Linked DNA regions of Homo sapiens: all the other regions are linked to region 1. Evidence: promoter capture Hi-C in 16 types of primary human blood cells and fetal thymus (Javierre and others, 2016). All regions are on one chromosome and are shown on one strand. Each heading gives the region's core, a stretch centred on a gene start or on the middle of the fragment in contact. The rest is flanking DNA. Distances are from core to core; before and after follow the strand shown.

What was found. The method cuts DNA at HindIII sites, captures the fragments that hold promoters and counts their contacts. A CHiCAGO score of 5 or more calls a contact.
Region 2: a fragment that was not itself captured here is called in contact with the fragment with the promoter of RAB4A in region 1 in 16 of 17 cell types (total CD8 T cells, total B cells, naive B cells and 13 more); the score reaches 9.5 in total CD8 T cells.
Region 3: a fragment that was not itself captured here is called in contact with the fragment with the promoter of RAB4A in region 1 in 13 of 17 cell types (naive B cells, total B cells, naive CD8 T cells and 10 more); the score reaches 9.3 in naive B cells.
Region 4: a fragment that was not itself captured here is called in contact with the fragment with the promoter of RAB4A in region 1 in 13 of 17 cell types (M2 macrophages, endothelial precursors, megakaryocytes and 10 more); the score reaches 9.4 in M2 macrophages.
Region 5: a fragment that was not itself captured here is called in contact with the fragment with the promoter of RAB4A in region 1 in 5 of 17 cell types (endothelial precursors, M2 macrophages, megakaryocytes and 2 more); the score reaches 8.3 in endothelial precursors.

Annotation. Positions count from the first base shown.
Region 1 is chr1:229,269,129-229,273,792 of GRCh38, reverse strand. RAB4A (RAB4A, member RAS oncogene family) reads right to left here and starts at 2,682. Exons shown (of 8, transcript NM_004578.4): 1 at 2,423-2,682. The coding sequence starts at 2,453. It overlaps RAB4A-AS1 (RAB4A antisense RNA 1), which reads left to right and starts at 2,639. Exons shown (of 2, transcript NR_149313.1): 1 at 2,639-2,817. RefSeq lists silencers at 2,141-2,300, 2,341-2,870. The HindIII fragment of the contact is 1,493 bases long and covers 1,703-3,195 here.
Region 2 is chr1:229,500,778-229,505,441 of GRCh38, reverse strand. It overlaps NUP133 (nucleoporin 133), which reads left to right. Exons shown (of 26, transcript NM_018230.3): 3 at 3,340-3,443; 4 at 4,579-4,664. Among named protein-coding and RNA genes, the nearest start is that of NUP133, 5.2 kb to the left of the region's middle. The HindIII fragment of the contact is 3,736 bases long and covers 969-4,664 here.
Region 3 is chr1:229,479,735-229,484,398 of GRCh38, reverse strand. NUP133 (nucleoporin 133) reads left to right here. Exons shown (of 26, transcript NM_018230.3): 12 at 254-345. Among named protein-coding and RNA genes, the nearest start is that of NUP133, 26 kb to the left of the region's middle. RefSeq lists an enhancer at 4,545-4,594. The HindIII fragment of the contact is 4,829 bases long and covers 1-4,664 here.
Region 4 is chr1:229,462,463-229,467,126 of GRCh38, reverse strand. NUP133 (nucleoporin 133) reads left to right here. Exons shown (of 26, transcript NM_018230.3): 16 at 371-493; 17 at 1,608-1,707; 18 at 2,252-2,503; 19 at 3,451-3,584. Among named protein-coding and RNA genes, the nearest start is that of ACTA1, 31 kb to the right of the region's middle. The HindIII fragment of the contact is 4,858 bases long and covers 1-4,646 here.
Region 5 is chr1:229,442,200-229,446,863 of GRCh38, reverse strand. It overlaps NUP133 (nucleoporin 133), which reads left to right. Exons shown (of 26, transcript NM_018230.3): 25 at 1,862-1,950. Among named protein-coding and RNA genes, the nearest start is that of ACTA1, 10 kb to the right of the region's middle. The HindIII fragment of the contact is 2,250 bases long and covers 2,290-4,539 here.

The sequences.
Region 1 (4,664 bases), core at 1,433-3,932:
TTGGCAAACTTCAACTGTCCTGCTTGCTCCTTCTAAAACTCATTTTCTTTTTTTGAGACAGAGTCTCACTCTGTTGCCCAGGATGGAGTGCAGTGGCACAATCTTGGCTCACTGTAAACTTCACCTCCTGGGTTCAAGCAATTCTCATGCCTCAGCCTCCCAAGTAGCCGGGACTACAAGCGTACCACCATGCCCAGGTAATTTTTTGTATTTTTAATAGGGCTGGGGTTTCGCCATGTTGGCCAGGCTGGTATTGAACTCCTGAGCTCAAGTGATCCGCCCAACTCGGCCTTCCAAAGTGCTGGGATTACAGGCGTGAGCCATCACCTCTGGCCTCATTTTCTATTTATTAGTTTCTACTAGTTTTCGATTAATTTCCTCTATTAGAAGAAAAGATTCAATTCAGAGTTGCAAAGTAAAAACATACTTGGAAGTTACCATGAAATAAGAATACTAATGGTCAAAGCCTTATGATCAGAATGTAATCAATCTGTGAAGCTCAAAAGTTCAGTTAACTGTGTCTGAAGTGGAGATGCCAAAGATAAGCTCTATTTTATCAGTTGTTATCATGCGTATACGAAAAATGAAACATAAAAGCTCTATCTCCTGAACTCTTCCAATCCTTTCTTACTGATTCATGACCCCCACTTGCTTTTCTTATTTGGACATTCCACCCTTCCCCTAGTGCTCCGTGCTCCTTACTCAGGTTAAAGAAACTAAGCCTGGGCTAAAGAGCACTTGAAAATAAAGAAGTGCAAAGATGTAACCAAAAATTGCTAAAGACCATGTTTTCCTTACAACATTTCTGACTGTGGTTCTCTACAGGAAGAACCAGACCACTGCCATTTGCAGAAACATTTGCAAACACTTGTCCTGATGAAGGCATCGACTTACTGGAGGATTTCCTACGCCTTCTAGGAACAGATGTCATGCCCCTTTGTCACCAAGAACAGGGCAGTACCAGTCACAGGAGTCACTCACTGAAGGTGGACCAAATGCACTGTGACCCCAGCATGGAAGCCCTTCCAAAAGTTCCCATTTTTTCTTACAAGACAAACTGACGCCTTCCTCAAGACCCTCTCCTCTCTGCCTCCTCATCCACCTCTCCAGCGTGGTACTCAAAACACACCCTTCTTGAGTTACCCTTCCCACAGGCCTGAGATGTTCTGCGTGCTGCCTGGTTAATGCCTCCCTGACACCCCTGTCTGGGTCATCTTTCTTTCTAACACACTTTCACGGACCACACTCCTTCAGAACTCTTGCCTGGTTTTTAATTATTCACTCATTAGTATCACAATTGGATTAATACTGCATTCCCTCAATAGACTACGCTCCATGAGACCAGAGCCGTGTCTGCTGTGTTTCTGCAGGATGTACAGCCCTCCCAGCACGGTGCTCGCTTCCCTAATGCCATTCCACAGTATTTGTTGCAGAGAAGGAAGCAGCATGCCAGGACAGATGGAGACAGGACTAATTTGGCTTGAGGTATGTAATTTTGAACTTGAGCCTCTCTCTGGGACTGTAAAACTCCAAATCAAAGTCTTAATCTGAGAATACATACATCTGAAAGAGTGATTAGGGACTGGTAAACATCTATTAATATTCAACTCTGATACAAAGTACAAGTTGTTTATTCTTACCACGCAAGGCCAAAAAAGGGGAGAAAAAAAAAAAAGCACACAGCATATGCACTGGGAAAGCTTTCGCTTATTCAAAACAGTATTTGTCAAGCACCTCCAGGTCTGGGTGCTGCAGGGGAAACAAAGATTAAACAGCCAGGGCTTTGCTTCCAAGGTGCTTACGGTCTTAAGAAGGAGACAAGACATGTTTATAAATAGCCAAAATGCAACCCAGAAAAGGCTAAAAAACACTGAGAGGGAGGGAGAAATAAACGAAGCAAGAGGTCTCCGGAGGAAGAGATGAATGAATTAGCCTATTAATAACTCCTCACTGTAATCCCAATGTAAAGCAAGGAATTCCAAACCAGGAAAGGTCAAACTGAAGTATTTGAGGAACACAGGCGTCGCCCTAAGCCCTTCACAGGCTCGCTGGGGATAATATCGCAGCTGAAACCGAACATCAAGCTGGCTTTTCAAACCTTCAGTTATTTACATTAGACTGAGAGGGGAAAAGCGCTAAGAGTGCAAGAGCAGAGAAAGAGCAAGAGGAAACTTGAAAAGGCGGATCACGCCAATGCGCTGTGCACAGCGCCCCCGCGCCCCGCGCACCCGCTACCCCACCCGAGCCCCCAGCGGCCCGCGTCCCCCATCCCGGTCCCAAGCCCAGACACCTCCGAGATCCGTCCCCCGGCTCCGGCCGGCGCCACCGCCACCCTCAAGACCCCCGCAGCCCAGGCCCGGCCCCGCGCCACCGACGCCCCCCGCGGCCCGACCCGCGCGCCCCGCCAGCCCGGGCCTCGTACCGTAGGTTTCGGACATGGCCGTCTGCGACATCTTGGGAGCGGCGCCGCCTCTCGCCGGGTCACCGGCTGCACTCGCCCGCGGTCCGCCGGCGCGTCTCGGTGGGGAAGGACCTGGGGCGGGGGACCGGAGGAGGGAGGGGCCCGACCGGTCCCCACGGCAACCGCCGGTCTCCCAGCGGCTGCGGCCCAGCCGGACTCCAGCTCCGCGCAGGCGCAGGGCCCTCCACCCTCCGTCCGGCCGCGACCGCGAGGAGGAAGAGGAGATGGGCTACGCGAGGCCCGGCCCACCCCGCGTTCGCGCGTGCGCACGGGGAGGCCGGGGCGGGGCGCGTGAGGACTTCGGCGCGCGCCGGAAGCACGTGCGCGGGCTGGGCGCTCTGGCGGTGTGCGCTGAGGTGGGCAGAGCGGCAGGTGGGGGCGTTGGGGGCTGAGTCCCGATTTCCCTGAGGGAGGGTCGGGTAGAGGCGGGCGGTGGGCAGGTTTGGGGGTGACAGAGGGCTGGGGACAGTGGGGTCCAGTTGCCGGACAGAGGAGGAAGGTGCCCGCACTGGGGAGGAAAGCAGTCCATTTGCCAAATTGGCCCGTCTCAGTTAAGACGTTGTCTTCGGTCATCATCTGCGGCTGTCAGCCAGGAAAAAACTTCCCTGACGCTGTTACGATGGAGGCCAGAACTTGGTTAATGTGTAACAAGGAGGCAGTAGGCCCCAGGTGTCCAGCCAGAGGCCGCCCTGTGAATGGGAGGCAGGTTCATTTACCCGTTGGGAAGCTAAGCTTTCACTCCAAACTGCCGGGCCCTCTTGGATGGAGCTGAGCGGGTGTGGGCGGAATGACAGAAGCGCAAGATGCCCAGGTGCTAAAAGGTCATCGCAAGACTACAGGCTGCAGCCTCTCCACATCCCATTTTAGAGGGTTCTGGATTACGGTTGAGAAGTATCTCCCGGCCCTCAGCTGGGGATGTGTTTCCAAATTTAGGAGTTTTTTTAATTTTTATTTTTTAACAGGGTCTGGCACTGTCAGCCCAGCCCAACCGATTCTCCTGCCTCAGCCTCCTGAGTAGCTGGGGCTAGGGGCTCACACGACCACACCGCGCCAATTTTTAAATTTTTTGTAGAGATGGGGTCTTGTTATGTTGCCCAGGCTGGTCTTGAACTCCTGAGTTCAAGCATCCTCCCTCCTTGGCCTCCCAAATTGCTGGGATTACAGGCATGAGTCATCTCACCTGGCCTTGGATAGTTTGGTTTCAGAAGCAAAACTGAGTTAGAATCCCCTTCTGTGGGAAATGTAGAGATAAACATTTATGGGAAAGAGAATTTTGGTTGAGGATTTGGCCCATCTGAGCTTGATCAGGGCCACATAGCGCCTCATAGTTCCCAACCTTGTTCACAATAGGTAGTCGAATGCTCAAAATATCCTTGGCTAAGCTCCCAAGTGACCTGGACTGTGTGGAAAATGCCAGTACATACTTTTGTGTGTGTGTGTGTGAGTCAGTTTGGCTCCATCCTCCACATAAATTGGCATCAGAGCTTCCCTCTTCCCCAGTGGCTATTTGGGTCGGTATTTTTCTCTTGTCTCCGATCCTAATAACAAATAAATGCAGTTTTTTCTAAATCACAGAGAAGGCCCCATGGTGAAAAGTTGTGACAGCTGTAATTCCTAAAACTGTTTTATATATATTTCTTGTTCAGTGGCTCAGATCATTTGTTGCTTTCTTGTTTGTCTCTCTGCATGTCGTGTTTGATTTAGGCTCCTGAGTATAACAGATTGGTTCTGATTAAAACCATTTCAGAGGAAAGACAGTGATCCCAGGAAGCGGGAAGAAAACAGCATCACCTGAAGTTATTCCTATTCGTTAGATTTGTTTTCTTCCTGCGAAAAACTGCTATGTACAAGAAAGAAGTCAGTGAGCTGCAGTGATAGTTAGCATTATTGACTGAAACTGGACCAGAGATCCCTGAAACCTGGACAAGGTGGTAGAAATACAAATTATGCTGCCATTTCAAAGCTGTGGGCAGTTTTCTACTTTGTGGAAAATGAAGACTTAGGTAGGCCTTTGGGAAAGACGATTTGTTTTGGAAAAACCACCCAAAGGGATCATTTGGTTTGCAAATGTAACTGCAGTATCACAACTGGAAGAAGAAATATACAAGGGCGAGGTTTGAAGGAGCCCTTCAGTATCCTTGGATGATACTGTGGAAGATTCTTTGCATCTCAGTAACTTTGGATCTTTGAAGATCCAAGAAAA
Region 2 (4,664 bases), core at 1,587-4,086, 230 kb before region 1:
TTCCAGGATCCCCAGTGGATGCCTGAAACCTTGTATAGTACTAAACCTTATATATACTGTGTTTTTTTAATACATACACACCTATGATAAACTTTAGTTTATAAATTAGGAACAGTAAAGATGAACAACAGTAATAATAAAGTAGAACAATTATAACAATATACCAGCAGCACTACTCTTGTACTTCGTTTGGGGTCATTAACTAAAATGAGAATATAAGCATTGCATTACTGCGACAGTTCATCTGGTAACTGAGACAGCTACTAAGTGACAAACAGCTGGATAGTCTCAGGGGTGTCCAATCTTTTGGCTTCCCTGGGCCACTTGGAAGAAGAATTGTCTTGGGTCACACATAAAATACACTTACGATAGCTGATGAGCTAAAAATAAATAATGAAAAGGTCTGTGTATAAATCTTATCATGTTTTAAGAAAGTTTACAAACTTGTGTTGGACCGCATTCAAAGCTGTCCTGGGCCACACGTGTCCCTGGGCCATGGGTTGGACAAGCTTGGGGTATACAGTATGGATATGCTGCACAAAGGGTTGATTCACAACCTTTAGGCAGGACAGTATGAGATTTTATCACTTTACCCAGAACAGCATGCAATTTACAACTTAGGAATTGTTCATTTGAATTTTCCATTTAATATTTTCAGACTACGATTGACCACAGGTATTTGAAACTGCAGATAAAAGGGGGAAATACTGTATATGCAAAATTCAGTCCTGTTTACAGAGTTGATCAGGTTTATGAAGTTTCCCGTGAAACCCCAAAACTGGCACCTCATGTTATTGGGTTTAATAATACAGTAAAATCAAGTCCTACCTCCATTTCTGGATCCTATGTAGCATCCCAGAGGCTGTGTGCACAAATTTATGACGTTACCATTGTCGTGGTGTACCTTTAGAAGCGTCTGTTGGTGGAGAATTAGTGTGGAATTTTGACAGATACAATCAACACAAGCTTAGAAAGGCAACTTTAAAGATGAGCAGTTGGATGACACTGGAAGAGCAAAGTTCAGAGCAGCCTTAATATCTGCTGAAGTCATTTTTATTAAGGCTTGAATTCTAGATCTTTGTGATTTTTCTGGAACAGTATTTTTCAAATTGTAGGGGTGACCAAAATTTAGCGGTTCTTGACCAGCATTTAAAAAAAGAAGAAATAGAATGCATCTCATATGTTTAGTAAATTTTGTTCGTTTTACTTAAATTGTATATGGGTGTATCGTGATGTAAAATGTATTATACTGTGAATAACTCTATTTACTGTATAACTTAATAACAGTAAAAAAAAAATGCTGAAATTACTCTGTTTTAGAAGAAGGAATATATCTCATCAACTGGAACTTGGCACATCTTGCCTGTAGGTCCTTGGGAGCTTTAGGGATAGTTGTTTTCAGACAACTACTAACCTTTCTATACATTGTTCTGTTTTAAATAAATAAATGTATATATATATATTGGTATATATGTGTATATTTTTCCCCTCTAAAAATTTCAGTTTACATTTAAACCTTTTAATGTACTACTCATATTTTAACAGACTAGATTAAATAACACAGCCCCAAATCTAGAAATTCAGAGAGTCCTTAGAAATTAGGATATATAAAACAAAGAGGTGTGTCAACTTGAAGAACTCTTCCCCACTTAGAAACCTGCCAACTACTGTTAAGTCAGCCCTTAAAGGCACACCGGTCGAGGATCTGGAGTTGTAGTGCTTTCAAGAAAAAGAAAATTACTGAGCAGATAGTTCAGTTGAGCAAAAAGCCTCACTCAGCCTGGGCTTGGTTTGATATTTTTGCTTGTACATTGTCTATGCCTTTTACTTCACCCTTCTACCTTTCTGTAAGTAAAGAGCAAAGCTCAACTTAATAAAATTTCCAGGGCTGTTAACACATTTGTGGAGGTTTACCACCAATACTTAAGATATGTGCTAATTTAGTTTTGTCACTTAATAGAGAACGTAACTCTTTGTCTCCATGTACTAAATAATTTATCATTCCTTTAAGGAGCTCTTATTTGAAAATTATGTGCTTTTGGTCCTCCAAAAGCACATTGTTTTCCTTGAAATGTTTTATATAGTTAATGAGTTTGTTATTTGTTTTACTTTATCGATATAATTATAAATGTTGCTAAATATTTCTTTTTTGTTTGTTTGTTTTGAGACAGAGTCTTGCTCTGTTGCCCAGGCTGGAGTGCAGTGGCGCGATCTCAGCTCAATGCAACCTCTGCCTCCCAGGTTCAAGTAATTCTCCTGCCTCAGCCTCCCGAGTAGCTAGGATTACAGGTGCACGCCACCATGCCCCCATGCCTGGCTAATTTTTTTTTCTATTTTTGGTAGAGATGGGGTTTCATCATGTTGGCCAGGCTGGTCTCGAACTCCTGACCTCATGATCCACCCACCTCGGCCTCCCAAAGTGCTGGGATTACAGGCGTGAGCCACCCTGCCTGGCCTCTCTTTTGTTGTTTCTGCTTACTTATTTTTTGATATGGAGTCTTGCTCTCTTGACCAGGTGGGAGTGATGTGATCATGGTTTACTGCAGCTTCAATCTCCTGGGCTCAAGTGGTTCTCCTGTGCCTCAGTCACCCTAGTAGCTGGGAAGTGCACTGCCAAGCCTGGCTATTTTTTTTTTTTTTTTTTAAGAGAGAGAGTCTCACTATGTTGCCCAGGCTGGCCTCAAGCAGTCCTCCCAGGGTGGCCTCCCAAAATATTGGGATTTATAAGCATGAGCCACTGTGCCTGGCCTAAATATGTCTTATAGGAAATAAGCTATCTGGTCTGTTTGTAACAAAAAATTAAGGAATATTAAATGTCCCAAATACACTTTTTGCCTTTAGATATATTTCTTTTTTCTTTCTTTTTTTTTTTTTTTTTTTTTTGAGATGGAGTCTGGCTCTGTTGCCCATGCTGGAGTGCAGTGGCACGATCTCGGCTCACTGGAACCTCCACCTCCCAGGTTCAAGCGATTCTCTTGCCTCAGCCTCCCAAGTAGCTGGGACTACAGGCACGTGCCACCACACTCAGCTAATTTTTTGTAGTTTTAGTAGAGTTGGAGTTTCACCATGTTAGCCAGGATGGTCTCGATCTCCTGACCTCGTGATCCTCCCACCTCGGCCTCCCAAAGTGCTGGGATTACAGGCGTTAGATATATTTCTAAAGTTGGTTATCAGAGTTAATAGATCTATTGTTTTTGGTGTTGATAATTTTGGAATATTCAAAAGTATTTGTTGTGAGGTAGTCGTTTCTGAGTGTGCCAATTACTTTTTTTTGATAAAGCGTGTGGTAATAAAGATTTATACTATAAGATTAATCACCCACCTCATTTTTTCCTTTAGTCGATGACCAGCTGACCATTAACATAGATGAAGGTGGATGGGCTTGTCTGGTGTGCAAAGAGAAGCTCATTATTTGGAAGATTGCTCTGTCACCTATTACTAAGGTAATGGCTCTTTAGAGAGCTGGAACAAGATAGAGGAGAGGAATGCCAATTGACTTTTCATTTTTACCCTAATTTTTTTACAGTTGGAGGATAGTCAATAGGAAACTACTTAGGCATTAAGAGTTTGCATTTTCATAGTGATGTGAAATAATGAGCATGCATACACATTTGTGTATTGGGAAAAAAGTTTCCCCCTTTTGAAGATCTGTGTTGTTTACATTTAATAAAATTAGAGTCATTGATATTTCCAATGAATATAATGCTAATCCGTCTGCCTAATGAAGTATCAGACTAAATGCTATCCACATAAGCAAATGAACTTTGAGTTTGCGTATTTCTGAGAAGACAGAACTATGTTTTGTTGAACCTACTGAATGATGCTTAATAAAATAAGAAAATATGATACCAGTTGCTAGTTAAACTTTTCACTTGTCCACTTCCAACAGTGGGTTATCATTTGCATGTCTAGTAACGTATCCTCAGCAACCTTTTTCTGTTTGTTACAGCTTAGATACACTACTCTCTTCTACCAGTCATTACTTCCTTGGCCATGTTCCGTTGGAACTCAGGGCTCCTGCTTACCTCAATTCTTCACTTCTGCTGAACTCTGTGTTACTGCTGCCTAGAAAAGGGTGTATGTGGTTAGGAGTAATAGGTGAGGGTGAATTCCTGGGGGACATACTGAGTTAGCTGCGGGATCCTGATATTTGGCTGAGAGTCTAAGAAATTGTTTCCTAGGTAACTTGGTATAATTACTCTTTGGTCATGCTAATTTTAAATGTCAGATGAACAAATCAAGAGTAAATTGGGAAAGTTCCATAGGAAGCCTAAGCACTCATCTTAACCTTACTTAGTCTTCTCTTAACTGGACTTTTCTAGCCCAGGAAGAGGTTAGGATAGTTGTTCTTCAGAGTTTGGTCTACCTTTAAGTTTTCATGATTCAATACTCTTAAGATACTTTGTTTTAAAATTACTGAAAGCCTGATTAAAAGGAGATGTGAGAAGAAAGAATATTTGTAGAATGGTGTTTCCAGCAGTGAGTCAGAATCTAAAATATGCAGAGAAGGGAAATCAGATGCATCTTCAAAATACTGGATTTGATGTGAAAGATTTTCTGTTTGGGTTTGTTCTACAGTTATCCGTTTGCAAAGAACTTCAGCTGCCACCTAGTGATTTCCACTGGAGTGCCGACTTAGTGGCTCTTTCTTACTCTTCTCCCTC
Region 3 (4,664 bases), core at 1,090-3,589, 210 kb before region 1:
GCTTGAAACATAAATTTTTTTTTTTTTAACTCATCAGCTATCATTAATGTTAGTGTATTTTATGTGTGGGCCAAGACGATTCTTCCAGTGTGGCCCAAGGAAGCCAAAAGATTGGACACCCCTGGTACAGACAATACGGCAAACAGCTCGTGTATATGCGGAGTTGCTATCATAGGATGGGTGCAGTTTTTAGTCCAATAATTAAGAATATTCAGATGCCTTTACCTCTAAACTATACTTTGTTATTTTGCAGAGTATGATTTTTGAGACCACTACAAAGAATGAAACTATAGCCCAGGAAGATAAAATCAAGTTGCTGAAAGCTGCCTTTCTGCAATACTGCAGGTATAACATGTTTTTTAAATTATGGATTATTTTATGTGTGAGGATATGTTTTACTGACATGTGCTACTTATTGACTGGTGGGAGCAAGTTGGAGGAATGATGCTATCAAGAGGAGAATGTTTTTTTGAGCTTTAGCACTTTAATAAACTGTTCTTCTGAACTTAGTAGCCATGGGAGGGTTCCAGCTAGCTAGGTTAGGGAAAAAACATGGGCTCTAACATACTCTCTCCACTTCATGAAAAACAATGTACCATTAAAAATGGTGATCATGAAGACATCTTGCAAGGGTCTTTTACGTATAACGTTAAGGTGCAAATAAGTTGCTTACAAAGTTTTTTTTTTTTTTTTTTTTTTTTTGAGACACTCCGTCGCCCAGGCTAGAGTGCAGTGGCGCGATCTTGGCTCACTGCAAACTCCGCCTCCCGGGTTCAAGCGATTCTCCTGCCTCAGCCTCCCAAGTAGCTGGGACTGCAGGCGTGTACCACTACACCTAGCTAATTTTTTTATTTTTAGTAGAGATGGAGTTTCACCATGTTGGCCAGGCTAGTCTCAAACTCCTGATTTTAGGCTGACTCCTAAAGTGCTGGGATTACAGGCGTGAGCCACCACTTCCAGCCGCATGCAAAGTTTTATTGGTAATATTAAAGAATTATGGCCTGGTGTGGTGGCTCACACCTGTAATTCCAGCACTTTGGGAGGCTGAGGCAGAAGGATCTCTTGAGCCCGGAAGTTCGAGACCAGTCTGGACAACATAGACCTCATCTCTACAAAGAAAAATTTTAAAAATAATTAGCCGGGCATGGTGATGCACGCCTCTAGTCCCAGCTACTCAGAGGCTGAGTTGGGAGGATCATATGAGCCCGGGAGGCCAAGTCTACTGTGAGCCATAATCACACCACTGCATTCTAGCCTGAGTGACAGATCAAGTCCCTGTCTCAAAAAAAGCAAAAGAATTAGACCTGGCCTATTAGTTGAGTTTTGCTTTACGCAAAATCACCACAAACCTTAGTGACTCATTTAACATAGCTGACAATTCTGCAGTTTGACTGTTGGGGCTGGACTCGGGGCAGTTTTACTTTTCGGAGTAGGCTCACTCATTTTGGTCTGCAGCTGGGCTGGCTGCTCTTTACCGTACTCACATTTCTGGGCCATAGGCTGGCCAGCTCGCTCTCTATTCCTGTGATGTCTCCTCAACTAGCAGGCTGCCCTGGGCTTATTCATGTATCACAGGGTTCTAGAGTGGCAAGAGAACAAGTGTCAGTGCACACTCTTTAAGTCTTTGCTTGGATGGCGTTTGCTAGTGTCCTGTTGGCCAGAGCAAGTCCAGCTGTAGTGAGAGCGTGCCTAAGCAGATGCGCGTATGGGGTGGGGAGTGATTGTCCTCACTTGGTCACACTTGCTGCTCTAATACTCTTCTGGGTTTAAGGCAAATGCAGATTTCAGTTTATCTTAGACATGTATTCTGCTCATGTATTCTGGTACTTTCCTTAAAAGGTATGGCAAATTCACATTTGAATAAATACTCAGGAAAATGGTGATCCAGCCCCCCTGCTCTGCCCCTTGTTAGCTGTGGGAAACTTTGGACAGATGCTGAACATTTCTGCCATTGTGTTTCTGTTTCTTCCTTTTCGAAGTATTGAGTGGGGTGGGAGTTAGCATGGCTAAAGGATCATTAGTTTATCGTCAGATCTTTGTTTTGAAGGAATATACTGAGTGTACTACCTTCATTTCCCCCAGTTCTGAGCCCATGGTTCCATAATCCCACTCATACTGGTGTCTGATGCATAGCGGCTCACTCACAGAGACAACAGATTCCAAAGTGCTTTTACAGTTCTAACATTCTGTACCTCGTGATCTACTGAGCTTAGTTTGTCACCAGAAGGGGGCACCATTAGGCAAGTTTTTTGTTTCTGTTTAAAATTATATTCTTTTAATCTTGTTCTTTTACATGGTTCAGTCTTCAAAAATCTCAGTTGAAGTACTGTGTTTTTATCTTTCACAAGTTTATCCTGTAATTAAAATTCTGTCACATTTGTGGCATCTCAAAATGTAAATGATAATGCAGCAAGTGACCAGTCATTAGATTTGTTTCCTGTGGCTGCCATAACAAATCACCACAAGCCAGGAGCTTCAAACAACGCAAGTGTCTTCTCTCACAGTTCTGGAGGCCAGAAGTCTGAGAGCGAGGCATGAGCAGGGCCCTCCCTCTGAAAGCTCTGAGAAAGGATCTGTCTTCACCTCTCTCAGCTCCGGGTGGCTGCTAGCAATCCTTGGTTTGTAGATGTGTCACTCCAGTTTCTGCCTCCATTGTCACGTAGCTGTCCTCACATTCACATGGCCTTTTTTTTTTTTTTTGAGACAGAGTCTCACTCTGTCATCCAGGCCAGAGTGCAGTGGTGTGATCTCGGCTCACTGCAACCTCTGCCTCCCTGGTTCAAGCAATTCTTCTGCCTCAGCCTCCCAAGCAGCAGGTGCACACTGCCATGCCCGGCTAATTTTTTGAATTTTTAATAGAGACGAGGTTTCACCATGTTGGCCAGGCTGGGCTCAAACTCCTGGACTCAAGATCCACCCACCACAGCCTCCCAGAGTGCTGGGATTACAGGTGTGAGCCACCATGCCCAGCCCACGTGGCCTTCTTATAAGGACATCAGTCATTGGATTTAGACTCATCATAATTTAACAAATTGTATCTGCAAAAACCTTATTTCCAAATAAGGTTGCATTTTGAGGCACTGGGTAGATATGAATTTGTGGGAGACACTATTCAACCTGGTGTAGTCATCTTAAGATGTTTTACAGGGGAAAATTATTAGGCACAAGAAGGGACCCCTGATCTAAGTCCTGAGCAAGCAGTACCCTCAGGAACAGTGTCATGGGCCCTGTAGCACAGCTGTGCTGAACTCATCCTGCCCAACATGGGTGAAGTACTATGGACTTAATAAGGGATGATTTCTGGGGGAGTGTCAGCTAGCTCTCTTAAAGATGTAGACTCCTTACAAACAGAATTGTGGTGCCTTTAAAGCTGGATTTCTCAACCCCATTAACATTGTCATTTGAGGCCGGGTGTGATGGTTCACACCTGTAATCCCAGTACTTTGGAGGCCAAGGCAGGCAGATCATTTGAGATCAGGACTTCGAGACCAGCCTGACCAACATGGTGAAACCTTGTCTCTTCTTAAAAAAAAAAAAAAAAAAAAATAGCTGGGTGTGGTGGCACATGCCTGTAATCTCAGCTACTCAGGAGACTGAGGCAGGAGAATCGCTTGAACCCAGGTGGCGGAGGTTGTAGTGAGCCGAGATCCCGTCACCGCACTCCAGCGGTGCATTGTAAGCTGTTTAACAGCATCACCAGCCACTTCCTGCTAGATGCCATTAGCACCCTTTCCCCCAACTTGTGATGCCCAAAGTTATCGTCAGACATTGCCAGATGGCCCCTGGGGTCACAATTGGTAGATAACACTTTTAAGTGTGACTGTCTGTTTAATCTTTTGCTAAGGTAATATTACTGTTTTTATAGCATCATTTCTTTGAAATTGATTTTTATGTTATTTTGGTTTTCATTTTATTTAGCCCAAAAAACACTAAATCTTTTGTTCATGAGAGTTTTGGGGAACTTTTTCTGTAATTTTTTATTAAATCTTGCCATAGTCACCTTTGTATTTTCATAACCTGTAGCGTGACTGGGTCACCAGCTTCACCCTGGCCTTTCACGCTTTCAAGAGTTTTTCTGCGTTTCTCCAGTCAGCTGTGTCTCCTGTTCTACCAAGGGACCATGACAGCCCTTTTCCAGTCTCCTCCCACTTCCCTCAGACTTAGCAGAGGACTTAACTTCCTACTTCACAGAGATCACAGAAGCCCTTGATAAGAGCTCCCTGTACCTCCTAGCTTACTAGCTATGAATGTATCTGGATCCCAAATCCTGTTCCTCTTTCCCTCCCAATAAAGTAGGAAGTGTACTCTTCTTCCTATCAGAGACTGCTCTTTGTTTTGAAGGCCACTCTCTCCTGCTTCACTTAAGACTACATCCTTTCAGTTCTCCCTTTCCTCTGTCCTTTGACCTTTCTCGTGCTGGCTCCTTCTCATCAGCAATTAATCATATTTAGTCTGCCATTTGTAAAAAGACCAGTCTTTGACTTTGCGTCCTTTGAGTTACCACCTTATCTGTTTGTTCCTGTTGATGGCTAAACCACCTGAAAGGATGTCTACATTCTCAGTTGTCGACCACATTCCCTCTCTGTCTACTCCCTCGGTGATCTTTTCTCCTCCTTGGCTTCATTTGCTGAAGAAACAGATGTACCATGACCCGGGCCATTATG
Region 4 (4,664 bases), core at 968-3,467, 190 kb before region 1:
AGGTCATTATTTTAGTCTATTAGTTCATTAGTTTGGGGTATTACATTGTAAAGTGATGTCATCTGTAACCTAGTGCTATTTAAAGATGCACTGAGCAGAGTAGCTATAATAAAAAATATCATCGCTTAAAAATCTCAGTAACAATCCAGAATTTGCCTGTTTATAAGACTTATTTGGGCACTCTGACTTTTAAAAGTTAGGAGATGTGACTTTTCTTGATTTTTGAATTTATTTTTACCATCAACTGCCAATAAATTTTCCTCCATCTATAGGTCTGAGGATATGGCTTAATGAGTAAAACTCACTGGGTAGTTGTTACCCATCACCATAATTTTTGTTGTAAGTAGTTTACTTCTGTGTATTCTCTCAGGTATCCCAAGTAGATACCATCTGTGAGTGCTTACTGGAGCATGAGGAGCAAGTCTTGAGGGATGCACCTATGGATTCCATTGAATGGGCTGAAGTGGTGATCAATGTGAACAATATTCTCAAGGTACAAAAATATAGTAAAGGCTTCAGCAAATCAAAGCCCAGGGCATGGATAGACAAGGAACTGGTTTCCATGTTCCTACTCTGTATTGCCGATAATGTATAAGGTTGTAGACATTTGTTAATCCCAAAAAAGTTAGAAAAATGTCATTTTATTATTAATCAGCTAATGAGTATTTTGAATGTTAGCCTGGTGCCTATTAATAAATTTCTATAATCTTGAGTTTCTATTTGGTAGAATAATAAACCTTTCATTTGGGAAGATGTGTTTGTATCTTTGCAATTTTTTAGTTGGTTTTTTTTCTGAGAGAAGGTCTCACTGTCACCCAAGCTGGAGTGCAGTGGCACCATCATAGCTCACTGTAACCTTGAACTCTGGGCTCACGACTTCCTCCTGCCTCAACCTCCAAGAGTGTTGGGATTACAGAACTGAGACACCATGCCTGATTGCAAACGTATTGTTAATGTAACTGTCTAAATATTTCTCATTTCTATTTTTTTAATTACTCAAAACCTTGCTACTTTTACTATTGACTAAAACGTTCCATTTAATTTTAGCTAGTGGACTTGTAGTAATGATTTTCCTACTTTGCCAAATAATTTTCCTACTATTATTTGCCAAAACTGAAGTTAAATTATGGAGTAAAACAAATTTCAAAAGCAGAAAGAACCAAAAAGTAATCATGCAGATCTGTGCTGACTTTTTTCTCTCATTTTCTTTTCTTTTCTTTTTTTTTTTTTTTTTGTGAGACATGGTCTCACTCCATTGCCCAGGCTGGGTTTATAGTGGCTTGATTATAGCTCACTGCAGCCTCCACCTCCTGGGCTCAAGCAGTCCTCCTGCCTCAGTCTCCCAAGTAGCTGGGACGGTAGGTGCACGCCACGATGCCCAGGTAATTTTAAAAATTTTTTGTACAGATGGGGTCTCACTATGTTGTCAGGCTAGGAGCAATCCTCCTACCTCAGCCTCCCAAAGCACTGGGATTACAGGTGTGAGCCAACATTCCTGGCCCCTGAGTATTTTTTCTTACTAATTTACTTTGCTGTCTTAAATTATCTTCAGAAATACTGTGATCCATCACCTTTTGCATGTGATAACACATTAACTTTTTTTCCAGGATATGCTGCAGGCTGCTAGTCATTATCGCCAAAATAGAAACTCTTTGTATAGAAGAGAAGAATCACTAGAAAAAGAACCTGAATATGTTCCATGGACGGGTAATATACTGATTTATTAACAGTTGTTCAAAATATATTTCTAATGACCCATCATTTTTAGAAGTTGTGTTATTCCCCTAGCGTAGGTTTGTAAGTGAAATGAAAAAGTGCCGTCTCCAAAATGAGCAGCTCTTGTCAAAATCACTTTATTCGTCCCTTGCTCTTATTTATCGATCTCTCTATAATTTATGTATTCAACTGGTACTTATGCATTTACTAGGTTTTAGTTCAAATAGTTATTCATAGAAGCAGTCCTGGCCCCGGAGGTATGGACTATATTTTATGTTGATTTAATACAAGAAAGTAAGTGGAGTAGCATTAAAGGAATTTAGAAGGAAGAAGAGTCATGTTTACCTGGCTTTGCTGAGGAAATCTCCTTGGAGAAGATGGGATTCAAGCAGGGCATTGACAGGTATCACCTGAATCCCTGTTCAATGTAATTTTCCAGCAGTGATGAAGAGGCATAATTTTTATGCTATTAGTCTTTCCTTTAGCCATCACTAGATCCCTTACTTTAACCATATTATTTTGTGTAATTTCACAGCAACAAGTGGTCCTGGTGGCATCCGAACGGTAATAATACGCCAGCATGAGATTGTCCTGAAGGTGGCTTATCCACAGGCAGACAGCAACCTCCGAAACATCGTGACCGAGCAGCTGGTAGCCCTGATCGATTGCTTCCTGGATGGTTATGTTTCTCAGCTTAAGTCTGTGGATAAATCCAGTAATCGGGAAAGATATGACAATCTGGAGATGGAATACCTACAGAAAAGATCAGATCTCTTATCTCCTCTTCGTAAGTTCATGATACTTGGCAAGAGTTTTAAATTTGCTGAATGGATGAAAGGGTTGAATAGTTAATTCAGTATATTCAGTGTGGTAGTGTTAATCCAACTGTAATAAAGAACTTAAAGCAAATATGCACAGCTTTCTGTGCTCATTTATTCAACTTTTTTTCCAGTACTATCTAGGTATAAGTACCATAGATGATACTGAAGACAATTAATAAATACATAAACAAACAACATGTGGAGACTACCCTTAAAGAGCTTAGCATCACAGACCTTTACGTGAATAACTGGATTGCAAAGTAGAGCCTGGTGAGGGCTGCTTGAGGGGTACAGATAAGATATTATGGCTGTTTGGCAAAGGACACATTATACTCCAGGCTAGGACTGGGAAGAGTTTGCTTTACTCTTACATGAAGGAAGAGAATAGCGTTTTGGGGAGGCAGTGATGAAACAAGGGTCTGAATTTGCATCTTTTTTTTTTGTTGAGACAGAGCGTCACTCTCTCGCCCAGGCTGTAGTGCAGTGGTATAATCTCAGCTCACTGCAACCTCCATCTCCCGGGTTCAAACAATTCTCCTGCCTCAGCCTCCCAGGTAGCTGGGATTACAGGCGTGTGCCACCACAACTGGCTAATTTTGTATTTTTGGTAGGGATGGGGTTTCACCATATTGGCCTGGCGGGACTCGAACTCCTGACCTCAGGTGATCCACCCGCCTCAGCCTCCCAAAGTGCTGGGATTACAGGTGTGAGCCACCGCACCTGGCCTGAATTTGCATCTTTAAGAAATTGATGTGAATTGTGAAACTAAGTGCCAGTAAGTGGGAAGGTTTCCATTCCATTAATGATTGTTGGTTTATAATAGGAATAAAGATAAAATTTCAAGTAACATTTTTTATTACAGATTTTAAGTTTTGCTAACAGGATTTTTTCCCATCTTTTCTCATTCCCACAGTTTCACTAGGCCAGTACCTGTGGGCTGCTTCTCTAGCAGAGAAATACTGTGACTTTGATATATTGGTACAAATGTGTGAGCAGACTGACAACCAGAGCCGACTCCAGCGCTACATGACCCAGTTTGCTGATCAGGTGATGAGTGTTGGGTGTGTGGCCACTGAGTCCTTTAGTTGCCTTTTCTTGAAATGGCTTTGCCATTTCAAATCTGTAATCAGGGCTTTTGGAATATGATACGATCTTTTTGTAGTTAACTTTGATGAGAAGATACTAATTTGTATGTCGCGTTTCTTTGTAAATTTTGTCCAGTAGCGAGATCACAGTTCACGACAGCCTCAACCTCCTGGGTCCAATCACTTCTCCCACCTCACCCCCTCCCACACCTCCTGCTTTCCAGTAGATGGGACCACAGGAGCTCGCCACCATGCCTGGCTAATTTTGTTCATTTTTCAGTAGAGACAAAGTCTCGCTATGTTGTCCAGGCTGGTCTCAAACTCCTGGGCTCAAGCGATCCTCCTGCTTCAGCCTCCCAAAGTGCTGGGATAACAGGCATGAGCCATCGCCTGACCACACAATTCTTTATATATAAATATTACTGAAAGATTCTTTGACCTTTGGAAAATATAACTTTCATTTCTGTTTATATATTTTCTAGTTATTATAAAAGTACTTAGGTACATGAATATTGGTAAAGTTCTTAAAAATTGTATAGAAGATACTCGGGAGCATAGAAGACTACTTTAAGAGAGCTTAGCTTTACAAATACACCTAACATTCTCATTTTCCTTGAGGGATATTATGCTTCCTGTTTAAAAAACAAAGTTCCCAGCCAGCCTCAGTGGCTCATGCTGTAATCCCAGCACTTTGAGAGGCCAAGGCGGTAGGATCACTTGAGGCCAGGAGTTTGAGGCCAGCCTGGGCAACATAGACCCTGCCTTTACAAAAAAAATTTTTTTAAAAAACATGCCACCACACGCCCATGGCCACACTTATTCAGGAGGCTAAGGTGGCAGGATCGTTTGAGCCCAGGAGGTCAAGGCCAGTGAGCCAAGATTGTGCCACTACACCACAGCTAGGTGACAGAGGAAGACCTATCTTTAAAAAAAAAAAAAATTTCCATTGTGACACTATCTTAAGTGAATTCAAAGTTGTTGCTTGAAGCCAGTCTATTCAGTCAGTTGATTACTATGAAAAGCTTATTTTTTATTACTGTAA
Region 5 (4,664 bases), core at 2,165-4,664, 170 kb before region 1:
TGAGCCACCATGCCCGGCCACATCCCTTATTTTTGCAGAAGTGAGGCTTGTCATGCCAAACGAGACTCGAAGCTATGATTTTGTTTTATTTATTTATTTTTATTTTTTATTAAAAAAAAATTTTTTTTTTGAGATGGAGTCTGGCTGTGTTGCCCAGGCTGGAGTGCAGTGGCACAATCTTGGCTCACTGCAAGCTCCACCTCTCGGGTTCATGCCATTCTCCCGCCTCAGCCTCCCGATTAGTTGGGACTACAGGTGCCTGCCACCACACCCAGCTAATTTTTTTTAATGTATTTTTAGTAGAGATGGGGTTTCACTTTGTTAGCCAGGATGTTCTCGATCTTCTGGCCTATTTTGTTTTTTAAGTTACTACAATTTGAGGGTCAGTGCCCTTTTCTAAGGCATTAAGTACTACTTTCTCTTTTTTTTGTTTGTTCGTTTTGTTTTTTGTTTTTGAGACAGAGCCTCACTCTGTCACCTAGGCTGGAGTGCAGTGGCTCAATCTCGGCTCGCCGCAACCTCCGCCTCCCAAGTTCAAGCGATTCTCCTACCTCAGTCTCCCAAGTAGCTGGGATTACAGGCATGCGCCACCACGCCCAGCTAATTTTTTTGTATTTTTAGTAGAGACCGGGTTTCTCCATGTTGGTCAGGCTGGTCTCAAACTCCCAACCTCAGGTGATCTGTCTGCCTCGGCCTCCCAAAGTGCTGGGATTACAGACATGAGCCACCGCGCCTGGCAAGTACTACTTTCTCACAATCATATCCTTTCTGCAGAGGAGGACTTCCACCTATGGAAATGGTGTTTATGTTACGATTCAATGACAAAGACTAAGAATAATCAGTTGAAGGAACAAATTCTTTCCAGGAAAAGAATTTTAAACAAAGCATGAATTGACTGCTAAAAGCCTTCTCCTACTCACAATTTTCCTTTTTCCTGTGGTAAAATATTATAGAAGAGCTATTTTTACTAAAGCATTTCTTCCCTCCTCTGATCATTCCAAAATAGTTAAAATTGCTGTTAAGTTTAGTCTTAGAGGTCAGTCCCTGAAGCTTCTAGCTTTCTGCCTACTTGATTGTTTGGTCCCATCCCAGTCATACAAAAGGATGCTATCATTTTGATTAGAATTCCTTGTCTTAGTTTCTTGTTTAAAAATTTTAAAGTTATCATGTCCATTGATTACAGAGCAGTGGTTTGGTATTTTTATTTTAGTAGTAGATAGTCACAACTACATAAAGAAAGCTTCTGGCTGGGTCCAGTGGCTCATGCCTGCAATCCCAGCACTTTGGGAGGCCAAGACAGGAGGATTGCTGGACCCCAGGAGTTCAAGACCAGCCTGGGAACATAGCGAGACTTTGTCTCTACACAAAAGTAAAAAATTAGCCAGGCACAAAGTGGTTGCATGCCTATGGTCCTAGCTACTCGGGAGGCTGAGGTGGGAGGAACACTTGAGCTGGAGGAGTTCGAAGCTGCAGTGAGTCATACTTTGGGGTCCATACTGAATATGTTACTTACTAATAGAATTTTCTTCAGAAAGATACCTCACTACTTGGTTTCTGAAATCAAATAGGTAAGAGTTATATTGAGTCAGTAGCTACCTTGAGTATAACATCTTTTTTTAAATGTGTTTTCCTTGGCGTCTCTTGCATGTTCCCTAGAGTGTAATGTCTTATATCTAATGTAGAAACTGTCAGGGTATTCAGCATGTAAAGTGCCTTTATTTAAATGATTTGAAACAGTATCACAAAACTCAGATTCTCCATCCCCCACAGCCATCAAAATAAAACCATGATAGCAAACAAATCATTTAATTCAGCTATATCAGTGATTTCATTTTTCCCTCATAATGATTTTGTTTTCTAGCTGGTCCAGTTCTGATGGCAAAGATGATCCAATTGAAGTATCTAAAGACAGTATATTTGTGAAGATCTTACAGAAACTTTTAAAAGATGGTAAGTGGTTTGTTACTATACCGTTGGAAATTACAGTGTCATTCCTCAGTTTTTTGGGTTTTTTTTTGAGACGGAGTCTTGCTCTGTCACTCAGGCTGGAGTGCAGTGGTATGATCTCGGCTCAGTGCAGCCTCCACCTCCCGGGTTCAAGCAATTCTTCTGCCTCAGCCCCTGGAGTAGCTGGAACTACAGACCTGTGCTACCATGCCTGGCTAATTTTTGTATTTTTAGTAAAAGCAGGGTTTCACCATATTGGCCAGGCTGGTCTCGAACTCCTGACCTCATGATCCACCTGCCTTGGCCTCTGTCTAAAGAAAAAAAAAAAAGAACCAAGAAGCTTTCATTTGGAGTCTGTCCACACTGATCTCCAAGCATTAGTATTCAGATTTGTAGCTTCCTTTCATAGCTGTAAAAATGCCACAGACTGAATTGTGTCTAATTAAGTATCTAGCACTAATATTTAAGGGCAGCTTTGCAGTTTTTGTTATTCTTAGTGGATTATAAAACAGGTGAAAAACAGGAATGGAAAGTCATAATTTCATAAAGGACAAGAACAGTGGAAACTTTTTTTTTTCTTTTTTTTGAGACGGAGTCTCATTCTGTTGCCCAGGCTGGAGTGCAGTGGCTCAATCTCAGCTTACTACAACCTCCACCTCCTGGGTTCAAGTGATTCTCCTGCCTCAGCCTCCTGAGTAGCTGGGATTACAGGCACGCACCACCATGTCTGGCTAATTTTTGTATTTTTAGTAGAGACAGGGTTTCACCATGTTGGTCAGGCTGGCCTCGAACTCCTGACCTCGTGATCTGCCCGCCTCAGCCTCCCAAATTGCTGGGATTACAGGCATGAGCCACCACGCCCAGCTGAAACTTTTATTTAAATAAAAATATAGGCAGGTGCAGTGGCTCACACTTTGGGAGGCCAAGGTGGGAGAATCACTTGAGCCCAGTAGTTCAAGACCAGCTGGAGCAACATAGGGAGATCCTGTCCCTATTTTAAAAAAAAAAAAAAAAAAAAAAAAGAGTTGAGCACAGGGGTGCATGCCTGTGTTTCCAGCTACTGGGGAGGCTGAGGTAGGAGGATTGCTTGAGCCCAGGAGGTGAAGGCTGCAGTGAGTTCTGATGGTGCCACTGCACTTCAGCCTGGGTGACAGAGCGAGACTCCGTCTCAAAAAAAAAAAAAAAAAAAAAAATTATATATGTGTGTGTATTATATATGTATATTTTACATATATAAGGCGTGCGGTTTTTTAATAACAGGACAAATGTACTTTTGGAACCTTCTTAATATGGCTTTCATGTACAATAGTGTTTTTAAAGGACAGATTCTGAAGGTAGGGAGATACAGATAACCTTGCATTATATTTCATAGGCATTGACAGTGCAACAGCTACTTCAGCCTGTGCATTCTTCCTGCAGACATATTTAAATTACCCACAAGGTTTGTTTTTACATGTTACCTGAAATACATTATACATACAGAACAAAATGCATGTCTCATTAAATGGAGTTTAAATTTTTTTCTAGTTAGTCACCAACATTTAATAGTTGAGAATGGTGTTATAAAAGTCTTATTTTGCCAGGCACGGTAGCTCACGCCTGTAATCCCAGCACTTTGGGAGGCCGAGGCAGGAGAATCCCTTGAGCTCAGGAGTTCAAGACCAGCCTGGGCCACATAGCAAGACCCCCACCTCTACAGAAAAAAAAAAAAAAATTAGCTAGGCTTCGTGGTGCATGCCTATAGTCCCTGCTACTCAGGAAGCTGAGGTGGGAGGATCACTTGAGCTCGAAAGGTCAAAGGATTGAAGCTACAGTGAGCTACGATCGTACCATTCCACTCCAGCCTGGGTGACAGAGTGGAGACCCTGTCTCAATAAAAAATAAAAACTACAATTAAGAACCAAAAAATAGGCTGGGCACAGTGGCTCATGCCTGTAATCCCAACACTTTAGGAGACTGAGGTGGGTGGATCACTTGAAGTCAGGAGTTCAAGACCAGCCTGGCCAACATGGTGAAACACCATTTCTACTAAAAATACAAAAAATTAGCCGGGTGTAGTGGTGGGCACCTGTAATCCTAGTTACCGGGGTGGCTGAGGCAGGAGAATCGCTTGAACCCAGAAGGCAGAGGTTGCTGTGAGCCGAGATCGCGCCATTGCCTGGCCAGCAGAGTGAGACTCCGCCTGAAAAAAAAAAAAAAAAAGAACCAAAAAATGATGCAAGGCCCTTTGAGTTTTTTTTTTAAACCAGTATCTGATTTTGAGAATCTTATGGTAATGTAACAAATTATAAAAATATTATTGGCTTATTAATTTGAAAATTTTCATCCAGTTTTCTCTATTTGTCAAATGAGAAAATTGTGTATGTTTGTTTGTAACTACACAGATGTCAAACAATCCATTTAGTTCATGTTCACTGTCTTTTCAGCTCTATGGATGACTTGTGAAGAAATGATTCTTTTGCCTATCTAATTTTAGATTTATACTGTAAACACATTTTGAGATCCTGTAGCTAGCGTTCATAACAGTGTTTCTACTAAATTATTCCCTAAATAGGGGATCATATAAGTGTTTGAAATACTTGTTTTCAAGCTTGGGAATACATGAAAACGTTTCAGATCTTATTAAACACTTTAAATAGAATGGCTATTTTGACCACTGGAGGGAAAAACACTCAGGCAGCCCCTGTAAAGGATATCACATTGTTAGACTTGAAAGT